Linked DNA regions of Homo sapiens: regions 1 and 2 are each linked to region 3. Evidence: promoter capture Hi-C in human tissues and cell types (Jung and others, 2019). All regions are on one chromosome and are shown on one strand. Each heading gives the region's core, a stretch centred on a gene start or on the middle of the fragment in contact. The rest is flanking DNA. Distances are from core to core; before and after follow the strand shown.

Region 1 (3,946 bases), core at 798-3,297, 63 kb after region 3:
CAGGTCCATTTGATCCAGAGTTGAATTCAAGTCCTAAATATCTTTGTTAATTTTCTGTCTCAACAATCAGTCTCATGTTGACAGTGGAGTGTTAAAGTCTCCCACTATTATTGTGTGGGAGTCTTAAGTCTCTTCGTAGGTCTCTAAGAACTTGTTTTATGAATCTGGGTGCTCCTGTATTGGGTGCATATATATTTAGGATAGTAAGCTCTTCTTATTGAATTGACCTGTTTACCATTATGTAACGCTCTTGTCTTTTTTATCTTCGTTGGTTTAAAGTCTGTTTTGTCAGAAACTAGGATTGCAACCCTTGCTGTTTTCTGTTTTCCATTTGCTTGGTAAATTTTCCTCCATACTTTATTTTGAGTCTATGTGTGTCTTTGCATGTGAGATGAGTCTCTTGAATTCAGCACACCAATGGATCATGACTGTTTATCCAGCTTGCCCTTTGTGTCTTTTAATTGGGGATTAGCCCATTTACATTTAAGGTTAATATTGTTATGTGTGAATTTGATCCTGTCATCATGATGCTGGCTGGTTATTTTGCAGACTTGTTTATGTAGTTGCTTCATAGTGTCACTGGTCTGTGTACTTTGGTGTGTTTTTGTAGTGGCTGATAATGGTTTTTCCTTTCCATATTTACTGCTTCCTTCAGGAGCTCTTGCAAGGCAGGTCTGGTGGTGATGAATTCCCTCAGAATTTGCTTGTTTGGAAAATCCTTTATTTCTTCTTTGCTTATAAAGCTTAGTTTGGCCAGATACAGTATTATAGGTTAGAAATTATTTAAGAATATCTGCTGGGTGCAGTGGCTCATGCCTGTAATCCCAGCACTTTGGGAGGCCAAGGCAGGTGGATCACCTGAGGTCAGGAGTTTGAGATCAGCCTGGCCAACATGGCAAAACCCTGTCTTTACTAAAAATACAAAATTAGCCGGGCATGGTGGCGCATGCCTCTAATCCCAGGGACTTGGGAAGGGTGAGGAAGGAGAACCACTTGAACCCTGGAGGCCGAGGTTGCAGTGAGCCGAGATGATGCCATTGTACTCCAGCCTGGGTGACAAGAGTGAAACTCCATCTCAAAAAAAAAAAAAAATCAAATAAATATTGGCCGCCCGTCTCTTCTGGCTTGTAGGGTTTCCACTGAGAGGCCTGCTGTTAGTGTGATGGGCTTCCCTTTATAGGTGACTCGACCTTTCTCTGGCTGCACTTAACATTCCTTCATTTTGACCTTGGAGAACTGATGATTATATGTCATTGGGCTGATCTTCTCATGAAGTATCTTATTGGGGTTCTCTGGATTTCCTGAATTTGAATTTTGGCCTGTCTTGCTAATTTGGGGAAATTCTCCTGGATGATATACTGTAGTGTGTTTTCCAACTTGTTTCTGTTCTCCCCGTCTTGTTCAGGTGCCCCTATTAGTCATAGGTTCAGTCTTGTAAGATAATCCCATAGTTCTCGGAGGTTTTATTCATTCCTTTTCATTCTTTTTTCTCTAATCTTGTCTGCCTGCCTTATTTCAGCAAGATAGTCTTCAAGCTCTGATATTTTTTCTTCCACTTGGTCTATTCAGCTACAAACTTCAAACTTGTGTTTGCATCGTGAAGTTCACGTGTTGTGTTTTTCAGCTCCATCAGGTTACTTGTCTTCCTCTCTAAACTGGTTATTCTTGTTAACAGCTCCTGTAATGTTTTATTATGGTTCTTAGCTTCTTTGCAACAAGTTTGAACATACTCCTTTAGCTCAGGGATGTTTGTTATTATCCATCTTTTGAAGCTTACTTCTGTCAATTTATCTATCTCTGACTCAGCCCGGTTCTGTGCCCTTCATGGAGTCATGTTACGATCATTTGGAGAAGAGGCACTCTTGCTTTTTGAGTTCCCAACGTTTTTGCACTGATTATTTCTCATCTTCATGGGTTTATCAACCTTTGATCTTTGAGGCCAATGACCTTTGGATGGGGTTTTTGTGAAGTCTTTCTTGTTTATGTTGTTGTTGTTGCTCCCTGTTTGTTTTTATTTTAGCAGTAGGGCCACTCTTCCATAGGGTTGCTGCAGTTTGCTGGGAGTCCATTCCAGACTTTATTCACCTTGGTTTCTTCCACCCCAGGAGGTATCACCGTGGAGGCTGCAGACCAGCAAAGATGGCAGGCTGCTCCTTCCTCTGAGAACTTTGTCCCAGAGGGGTGCTAACCTGATGCCAGCAGAACACTCCTGTTGGGAGGTCTCACCCAGTTTGGAGGAATAGGATCAGGGACCCACTTAAATAAGCAGTCTGGCTGCCCCTTGGTAGAGCAGGTGTGTTGTGCTGGCAGAAATCTCCCTCTCCAGAGCCAGTAGGCAGGAAAGACTAAAATGGCTGATCCACGATAGCGTGGCCAACCCTCCTCCTAGAGCCTCTTCTCAGGGATATCAGAGTTCTATCCATAAACCCTCCACTGGGGATGTGAAAATTCCCACAGGGAGGCCCTGCTCCGTGAGGGGGAATGGATTGGAGTCCCACCTAAAGAAGCAGTCTGGCCACAAACTGTCCCAGCCGCTGTGCTGTGCTGTGGGGGAATTGCTCCCCATCCAAACTGCACTGGCATCATGGTAGGGGAAAACGGTGGACTGAAGACACAGTAATGGCAGCTGCCTCTTCCCCCCAGGAACTCGTGGTCTCAGTGCCTGCTCAAGTGCCACCCACCTCAGCAGCCACCATCAGTCTGCATAGCTTAATGCTTGGAACCCAAGGCCCTGGTGGCATGGGCTCATGAGGGGACCTCCTGATCCCCAGGTTGCAAGGATTCATGGTAAAAGCATGGTTTTCAGGGAGGGGTAGCACAATCCCTCACTGCCTCCCTTGGCTGGGGAAGGGAGCTCCCTTTGCCCTGTGTGGCTGGCTCCCAGGTGGGCCCTAGCTCCACTGTGCTTTTCCTTGCTCTCTCTGAGTCACGCCAACCTCCTAGTCAGTCCCAATGAGAGAACATTGGTAACTCAATTGAAGATGCAGAATCCACTTGCCATTTTTGTCCTTTTCGGTGGGAGCTGCAGAGCAAAGGTGTTTCTATTCAGCCATCTTGGCTGCTTCCCCGAACCGTTTCTTAATGTATTTGTAAAACGTGTTTATGGATTCAGTTAACTAATATTTAGGAGTTTGAAATCAACATTTGAAAGTCAAATGAGTTTTTAAATATTTTAAAATCTCATATTGTTCTTACCTAGTTTTGGAATAAAGATTATGCCAGCTTCATAAAATGAGCTGGGCAGCTTTTGCTCGTTTTCTGGAACAACTTGTATATTATTAGAATTTACTGTTTTTTAAAAATAAGTGGAACCACCCATATCTGTGTTTTTTTGAAGGTGATAACTCTGACTACCCTTTTCATTTCTTTGAATATTGTTGGTACACTTAGGTTTTCTGTGTCATTGTGTACCAGTTAAGGCATCTTGTATTTTTCTAGGAATTCATCCATTTAATCTTTATTTTTAAATGTGTAAGCATTCATAATATTTATTTTAAAACTTGGCTGTATTTACTTATTTCTTTTTTTCTGCTGTATTTTGTTCATTTCCATCTTTTTTGTTCCTGATTAGTCTGGATAGAGTTCTATCTTATTCTTTTAAACAAGCAACTTTTTAATTAAATAAAAAGTTATTAAAGAGTGCTCTAATAGGCCTCTAACTGCAAAGAATATAGATTCACCTAAATAACCTCAAGATAAAAGGGGATAGTAGTTATTATAAAAACAAACAAGGTATAGAAGTGGACCTAGAAAGACTTTGTAAAGCCTAAGAAATCATATTACCTCTTAAAAAAACAAAACAAAAACAAAAACAAAAATCTTCTGCCTTCCTCTCTCTCTGTGAATCTTTTCCGTGTGTTTATGTTCCTTTATGACTTTAGCTTGTCATGACAAACCTCATAGAATCCTTCTAGCTTTGGTTCTCACTAACTCATCTTTTTCTCGT
Region 2 (4,204 bases), core at 1,278-3,777, 39 kb after region 3:
AGTTGAGCATAGTTCAATACCAGAATGGTAGTTCAATACCAGAATGGTATTTAAACTTTACCAAGTCACAGGGTAGTCATAAAGATAAATTGCAAGTTAAGTTAGAATTAGCAAGGGCAGCTTTCAAAAGCTATAGAGGCCACTCTAGTCAGTCTAATAGGTCGCATTAAATTCTGAAAAGCCAAGGTAAATTACTAATTATTGTTTTACATTTAATGTAGAGGAAACAGGTTTTGAATAGGCAATGTGTGAATCCAAAATTACATCTTGTAAGTGCATTGGTGGTATCGTGGTGCACACGGCTGCCTTCCAAAATTACATCTTGTAGACTATATGCATAACCCATATTAAATCACTAAATGACCCCATTTAAAGTCATCATGTACAGCAAACACTTGCTTCCTTTTTATAGGATTCACAGCATGATTTCAGAGTTATTTACTTTTCCTACATTGTTGGTCAGAGTTTGTTTATTTTATTATAAAATAGGGAAAAATAAAACTGAGTTTAGGAAAATTACTAATGCAAGCCAAGGAAGAGTAGATTGTAGTATAATTTGTGTTTAATTTTCACTTTTTCTGAATAAATTAGTGAAAATGGTCATTAAAAATCTTTGAAAACTGTAGATGAATTTAACAAGAAAAATGGAAAGCACACATAGAAAATCAATGTTAAATGTCTGGCATTGGGGTGGATGTAGATATAGACGTACAGTTATATGTGAATAGAGACTTAAATATGTGAGTCTTTCTATTGGAAAATTTGTGATTATGAAAGAAATTTCCTTAGTGTTATCTAGTCCATAACGCAGTTGGAAGTTATCAATCAAAATAGCGTTAGAGAAAGTCAAAAGTGCCATGGTGCAAGCATCTTGATTGTCACGGAAAGAGTCCACAGACAGGAGAGTGAAGTTAGCAGATCCTTAATAATACTGTAGTACTTCAAGGTGCCCAACTCTAAGTAAGCTAAGTTGTTTAGATGTTAGGATACTTGCTGATTCTCTTTGGTGTTTAATTACATTGAGGCAATGGTTACAATGCGATCCAGGCAAAATTCTGTAATTTTTCTAATCCTCTTTGAAATGAATGTTTTTCCTCACCTTTCACCCCTCCTTTTTGACTTCACAGAGATGATGTCATCCACCACTAATAAAGATGCAGGGACCTTAGATATGACGTTGGGATTCATTCCTAATTTGTCACAGGAGCTGAAGGCAATTCTGTCTGAGGGGTAGCTGTCACTGAGAAAGGTACTACTTTCCTGACAAAAGAGAAGTGAAGCTGATGATGCCAGTAAACTATGCTGTGAAGAATGTTGTGACAAAGGGACTTTTCTGAAAGTATGCACAAAGTAAAGTAATTGTGAACTTCTCACCTAACCTCCTATGTATTCTCCATGAAACATTCAGTGATGTCCAATTCAGTGACCACTGATTGTTAGAATGTGAGAAATCATTATTAATGCTTACATGTTTCACTTGCTCTGTAACACCATAGTCTTTTCACTATTGTACTTCTATGAAATTGATCTTTTTTCTGCTGAAAAAGTCTCTTTCTCTTTTTTATTGAGAGTATATGTAAATCAATTGCTTTTGAATCTCATTGACTATATAATGATTATAAAAGCTTTATTACTTTAACCAACATAATAACTTTTTATACATAACTGACACCAACCACATGTAACAGTTATACATTTATTTAATCAATTTTGTCAACGTATACTACATGAACACAAAACCACAAACACTGCAATATTTTACTTCATTGGAAGTGGGAGGGTTTGGGGCTTAGTGAAATATTATTTGAAAGCAAGCTGAACTGACAATAAATATATTCAGATTTTTGTGCCCAAATGAACTCAACTGTTTCTCTAGTAAGGTTTTTTATGCTTTTAAATAAATATATAATCATAGAGATAACTGAATAAATAACTCATTTTTTGTCTCAGAAAGAACTAGCGAGGAAATGGATTCAAGTCTACCATTTTAGAATTTACAGAACATTTACGTAAGTAAAACAAACCATGAAATAATATGAGCATTTCTTAGAGTTGGTAAAACATCATGGTATCATTTTTAAATTTAGTCAGTTTCTTCAACCTCTGTATCCATACATATTAGCTAGCCTTTACAGAGAAAATGCACTTTAGAAAAAATTTACTTTAGAAAAAGTAAATTGCTTCAATCAAATGTCTGTAAACAGAATTATAGGAGACTAACATAGAAGTTCCTATATTCCAAAGTTCCATACATGGTCAATCATAACCAAGGCTCTAAGGTTTATCATGTCCTCTCTTAGTCCCTCCTGGAGAGCTTCTTCTCATTGAGAGAGCAGAGAACGACAGAATGTAACTGTTTGGGGAGAAAGCCAACATGTTTTAAGAGTTGTGCTTTCATGGTGGAACCTTTGTTGCTCATTGTAACTCTTGCATTCAGACTTACTTATCTGCAGTACACAGCTCACTGTCCATTCCAGAACACATTTTCTCCAAGTTCGTCCTTAACTGATAACACTGAGGGCTGTCACTATTATCTACTATCTACTGAAGTAGTTGCCTCAGTCTGCACCAGTACATACTCCTACTACTAGCCTATCTTTCTCTCCATTTTTCCCTCTAGTTTCCCAGATGTGTCATGACCCCTACCTTTCTTATTCCCAAAGACTGTTTTTGCGCAACAGGTATCAATTTTAAGGCACAGTCTCTCACGTGCAGAAAATATCCACCTTTCTTCTTTACTAAATCAATAGCAATCCCAATTCTGTTACTTAGTAGAGAATTCAACATCAGACATTGTTCTAATGGGGACACCCATGAAGGTGTGCACTGAACCCAGGGTCTTAGCGCCAAAGCACTAAGATCCTTGGGCTGCACTGTCCTCAATGGCTACCGCTGCAACACTCAGTGCAATCCCACATGGTCCTCTCACCTCTGTACTTGTGTCCCTCACTGGGGACAGAAAGAATGCTGACAAGGATCATATCTCTTCCCTTGGATAGGGAAGTTTCAACCTCAGGGTAATTTAAGGAAATAATCATATTATCTCCCTTCTGTTTCTTTTTCTGTGTCTGTCTCTGTATTTCACTCTCTCTCTGGCTCAAGTCCTATCAGGGTTACTTGTATAACTTTTTATATGTCTTTGGGCATTTATAAACAATTGGAAGTGCAGCTTTAGGCATCTCCTTTCTAGCATAGCCCTTCAAAAGTAAGCTAGACGGGCAAAAACCAAGGCCCAGGCAGCCTGCTTGAACTGGGCTGGGGAATGGAAATGTGAGACGGAATAATACAGTATCATGCCAAGCCAGGATAACATCTCAAGAAATTATCCTAACACACACACTGATCACTAACCTTTTCAGCCTTTCCTTCTCCCTGGCATTAGTCCAGATGTGAGGGAAAAATGATAATAGATGAAGTTTCATAATTTTACTAGTATATATAATTTTAAATCTCTTAACCAAGAAATGTTCAAAGCTTTGCTTCCTGGAGGACATTTGGAAGATATAAATTTCCCTTTATTCTTAGTTTTAATATTCTTTATAAATCAGTGTGACAATTGAAGTAAAAGGACAGACTCCTAGAATAGCTCTAAGGCCCTACTGTGAGATTCCCAGGGTGGATGTAACGAAGAACCTAAACTGGTTTAAAACAAAAGAATTTTTTTTTCTCATGGTTCTGAATGCTGCAAGCTAAAATCCAGGTGTTGGCAGTGCCAATGTTGTTCTGAAACCTTTGGGGAGCATCCTCTTTTCTTCTTCCTAACTTCACATGGATTGCTGCTGCTTTTTGGCATTCCTTGGTTGTAGCTGCAGCTCTTCAATGTTGTCCCTCTTGACACATGGTGCTCTCTGTTCCTTTGTCTTCACATTATCTTTGTGTAAGGATATCCATCCTGCTGAATATAGGGCCCAGCTCCAGAGGGACCTCATTCTAACTAACTACATCTACAGCCACGCTAGGGTCTATAAAGGTCCCATTCTGAAATACAGGTATTTATGGTTTCAGTGGATCACTTCGGGGACACAATTCAATGCATAACAGAGCCTGGAGAAATCCAGACAGGACAGTCAGGGTGGTGAAGAATACGCTCATTTACCTCTCTTCCCTCCCTTGATACACAGAAATAAAAATAAACCACTCTTCTGAGAAGACACAGAGGCAAAATTTTCTCCTGGGACTACAAAATGGTACAGCCACCCCAGAA
Region 3 (4,422 bases), core at 880-3,379:
TGTAATTAAACACCAGAGAGAATCAGCAAGTATCCTAACATTTCAACAACTTAGCTTACTTAGAGTAGGGCACTTTAAGATACTACAATATTAAGGATATGCTAACTCCTCATCCTGTCCCCTCTATGCACTCTTCTAATGACCCTCTAAATGCCTATACCATACCACTTTTGACTCTCCCTGACACTGTTTTGATTGATAACCTCAATGCATTATGTACTGGATAGCAATAGGGAATTTTTTTTATAATCACAAGTTATTCTAATAGAAAGATTCAGATATTCAAATCTGATCCACATAAATCTATACATCTATATCAGTGGATCTTAGCTAAAAGGCTGAGAAGCAACATACATCTATATGTGTCGACACCAAATGTTAACATTTGTTATCCATGAATACTTTCCATTTTTCTTGTTAAATTTATCTATATTTGTCAAAGTATTTAAATGAGGATTTTCACTTATTTACTGAAAAAAAGTGAAATTTAAATAGAAATTATAGTACAGCATGCTCTTCCTTAGTTTGCATTAGAAATTGTTTGGACTTTGTGGTATTCTTCCCTTATTTTATAGTAAAATGAAACAAGCTCTGACTAATAATGTAAAAAAAGGAAATAACTTTGAAATCGTTATATAAATCACACAAAATCCAAGTGCATTCACTGTGCACGATAACTTTAAACAGAGTCATTTAATGATTTAATGAAGTGTATGCATATGGGTTACAAGAAGCAGTTCTGGAGTCACACATTGCTGGTTCAAAACCTGTGTCATTTGTATTAAATGTAAAACAATGTTTAGTAATTTAACTTAGCTTTTCAGAACTTAATACGACCTATTAGACAGAATATAGTAGCCTCTATCTCTTTTCGAAACTGCCCCTGCTAGTTTTAACTTAGCTGGCAATTTATCTTTATGAATACCTTGTTACTTGGTAAAGTTTGAAAACTATCCTGGTATTGAACTTTCCTCAATTCTGAAATCTTGCTTTTAAAGAAAATGCTTTGCAGTCTCAAATGTTGAAAACACTAATCAAATCAGCTATGATGGTCTGAACAGTGAAATTCCCTTGTCTCTGGTCCCCTTCAATTTCCCCTCTAGTCATCCAGGCCACTTTCTTTCTCTTCATCTCATCTCTCTCAACACACTACAAGAGTAGATTCAAAGAAATGGGAGGCAAGGTGCTCTGTTGGTGTGCATTAAAAAAAACTTTTTTGTAAGAGGACGTTTTTGGTGACATAGACCACTGCCCAGCTTAATGACAAAGGATGAGAGTTATTAAATCTAAGCCCCCTTTATCTCACATTCCAGGAACCTAACAGAGGTCTCAGTGTGCTGCCCCTAGGCCAATAGGTGCATAAACAGAAATGATAATCAGCTCATCACCTCACTGTTTGTCCCCTTTCTTCTTAATTGAAGATGCCTGGCCCAGGCATCTCATTGCAATCACACCTGTTTTCTGGCCTGCCCAGCTTTCCTGGGGGTCTGGGAGTACACCTCACCTCCTGCTGGTGTTTGAGAATAGTCACCTTCTCTGAGGATTCCCTGTTTTCTCCACCCTGTATCTCTGGCTGCCAGGTGGGAAAGGCACCAAGAGCCTCCAAGGTGAGGCTGTTCTTCTGTTTTTCCTGCAGCTTCTCCTCTACCCCCAACTTCCCATGAGATTTCTGGTGAGACCCTTTTAATAAAAGCACATTACAATGAAAAACCACAAACTTGTAGGCACTAGCCACAGTAGAGTCTGAGTTGACTACAGGCAGTCAATGAGATCTGGAGCCTGTTTTTTCAGGCCTCATTCTGATTGTTTGGTAGTCCAGGGCTCTCACCTTTGGGACGTCCAGATTCCAGCAGCCACCCTCCTGGGGTGGTGGTGAATGTCTTCTCAGGCATGGGGCAATATGACAGCAAGTGTTTTCCAAATCGGGGACCACATCCCCTCAGCTCTGCTGCTAGGCTTTCTCTAAGGAGTTGGCTCAGCAGCAGCCAGATTGCTGGCAGATAGGACCGGAACAGGCTGGCCATCCTGGACCTGAACTCTCCTGTTCTGGGTGTTCTCAGCCTTTCTTTAGAGACTTGCTGCTGTAGCCTACCAGACTGTGCTGGTGTGTCCCTTCTGGGCTCCAGACTGCTTTCTGCATGCCTTCATCAGGCATTTATTTGCTTAGGGCTATTACTCAGCTTTTGCGTCAATGGTGTCAGTTCCACCCCTTTCCCACCCACCTACAAGGAACTTTCTCCCTCAGTTCTTATTTAGTCTCCCTACTTGCCCTACCCACACTCTCATATCCCTCTTTGCTCCCAATGTGCTGCTGCACTTTGCTTGTTTTGAATTTGGTTGTTCTACTTCTTTTTCTTAACTTTCCTCCTGTAATACTATTTTTATGCTTACTAAAATAATGGTAATTTTTAATGTCCTTTGCTTAGATGAAATAAAAATAGAACTGACCTGTAAGCTCATTGGCTAGAAATTATCTTAGTTAACATTTGGCATATAAGCTTTTAATTGCGGGGGTCTGTCCCACAGACCCTGACCCAACGACGGATGAATAACATACACTGACACAGATAGTTTGCCTGTCAGTCCAGCTGAGGGTCCGGGCCACCTACAGACACCAAGGAGGGTGCTGTAAAGAGTTGCAGCCGTGGCCCCGATCAGCCAGCAAAGCTCACATTTATTCAGCATAGATTAAATGACGAAGGTCTTGAGTAAACACCACTAGAAGGTAATTGACATTGCCAACCTCCCGAGTAGAGAGCAATTATGCACCCGCGGTTGATCAAAGATTAGTCTTAGGACCACATGAGTAAACAAACTAGATAAACTACATTCATTTGTATCTGTGCCTTAAGCTATTAACTCAAGGTAAGGATTAGGCTGCCTTCAGCCTGATCTATTACTGGAGCTTATACAAACCCCTCCGGCGTTTCAAAAAGGTTTGCGTCTTTTTCTTATAACTATCTGAAAAAATTTTCCCACCAGCCTGACTGAACTCTCACATCTCCCCCCTTTCTGTTCTTTGCATCGGGTTCTGTTGACTTAAGAGTACAGATGTGTGCAGCAACAGGTTTGTTAGGTTTTGCTTTTATTCCGGCTTTGCATCATAGAATTAGCAAATAACGTAAGACAATCATGAGTATAATTAGTAACATTCCTTTCCAGTCAAAGTGTGACCCCCAGGATCGGGGGTATAACCAGGAGAAATGATCTTGCACACCTTTCCATATGGCTGTTTGTTGAGTATGTAGATCTATCATGTGAAGGGATTCTAAAATTTTAGTTTTAAGTTGCTTTACGTCTGCTGTTAAATTGTCATGAAAGTTTCCCCAGAGGTGTTGTTTCACCTCATCCCAACTATGTATTGATTGATTCCAAGGTAAAAATGTGACACAGATATGTTTATGCTCCCAGTCACAGTTTAATTGCTATCAGAATGCTAGGGCATCTTGTCGCTCCCCCACAAATTCCAAGGCAGCCTCGAGGGCTTGCAGACGTGCAAGAATCTCTTGATCTATACCCTGCTGTAAGAGAAGTTCATTAGACACATTTCTGGCCAAATTGTCTACAAAAGCAGCTGTTTGCACTGATTCGGTAGTAGATGCTATAGCCACACTAGCAGTTGCTAGGATGACTATGGCTGAGACTATAAAGGTTATAAGTGTGCCTATAAATCTTTTGGGTCTGACCTGGGATAGGGCACATTCTAAGGTGGCAAAGGAAGAGGAACCTTGCCAATAGTGTGTCAAATTGACGGGTAGGAATGCCTCAGATTGTCTCCTTAATACCATGACACTAGTAGTATTTAAATTAGATATATTGTAATTAGTGGTACATGAGGCAAACAAAGCCTGTCCTTGCACCCGGGTCACAAACATGGAATTTTGGGTTGTAATAGAAATATTAGTTCCCATAAGGAAAACATATGGATGGAGTTGCAAATTAGGGACTGATCAGTGTGATTATGAATAAAGGTTATAGTATAGTTGTTACTGTAATTATGATATGTCCCATGCCAGGTGTCAAGGGAGGTGCTAAGATGTCCCAGGCAACATAAAGTGTCTTGGGGAGGCATCAACTTTACTCGGGGTCTGGGATATCCTATCCTCCCATCGGCCCAAATCATAAGGGAATGGGACGAGGCTATGAAACTGTGATCGATGCCATGATGGATGAGGATATCAGTAAGGCTGCCCTACAAATGGCCACAGGGGCTCCAGTCTAGGATGTTATAATTGCCTAACTGGAGGCTATGAGCTTATTCCCCATGACAGATCTCCCAGCTAAAGTGGAATCCGTTATTTTTCCGGCTTTGTTCTTTAGCACAGGAAGGAATGTTTGGGAAAGCAGACTTGATTTCCGTTTTGAGGCTACCTGCAGCTAAGACTGTTAAGGCACTTCTTTTGCCATGATGTAGCCATAATT

The links. The method cuts DNA at HindIII sites, captures the fragments that hold promoters and counts their contacts. A contact is called where the count stands out against the background at its distance.
Region 1: a contact is called between a fragment that was not itself captured here and the fragment with the promoter of INSL4 in region 3, in 1 of the 25 tissues and cell types used here (psoas muscle).
Region 2: a contact is called between a fragment that was not itself captured here and the fragment with the promoter of INSL4 in region 3, in 2 of the 25 tissues and cell types used here (pancreas and psoas muscle).

The regions. Positions count from the first base shown.
Region 1 is chr9:5,166,074-5,170,019 of GRCh38, reverse strand. All of the region lies in intron 1 of INSL6 (insulin like 6), which reads left to right. Among named protein-coding and RNA genes, the nearest start is that of INSL6, 18 kb to the left of the region's middle. The HindIII fragment of the contact is 3,819 bases long and covers 138-3,946 here.
Region 2 is chr9:5,190,481-5,194,684 of GRCh38, reverse strand. No RefSeq gene overlaps it. Among named protein-coding and RNA genes, the nearest start is that of INSL6, 6.9 kb to the right of the region's middle. The HindIII fragment of the contact is 5,042 bases long and covers 7-4,204 here.
Region 3 is chr9:5,229,126-5,233,547 of GRCh38, reverse strand. INSL4 (insulin like 4) reads right to left here and starts at 2,129. Exons shown (of 2, transcript NM_002195.2): 1 at 1,829-2,129. The coding sequence starts at 2,024. RefSeq lists a promoter at 2,035-2,852. The HindIII fragment of the contact is 9,700 bases long and covers 1-4,422 here.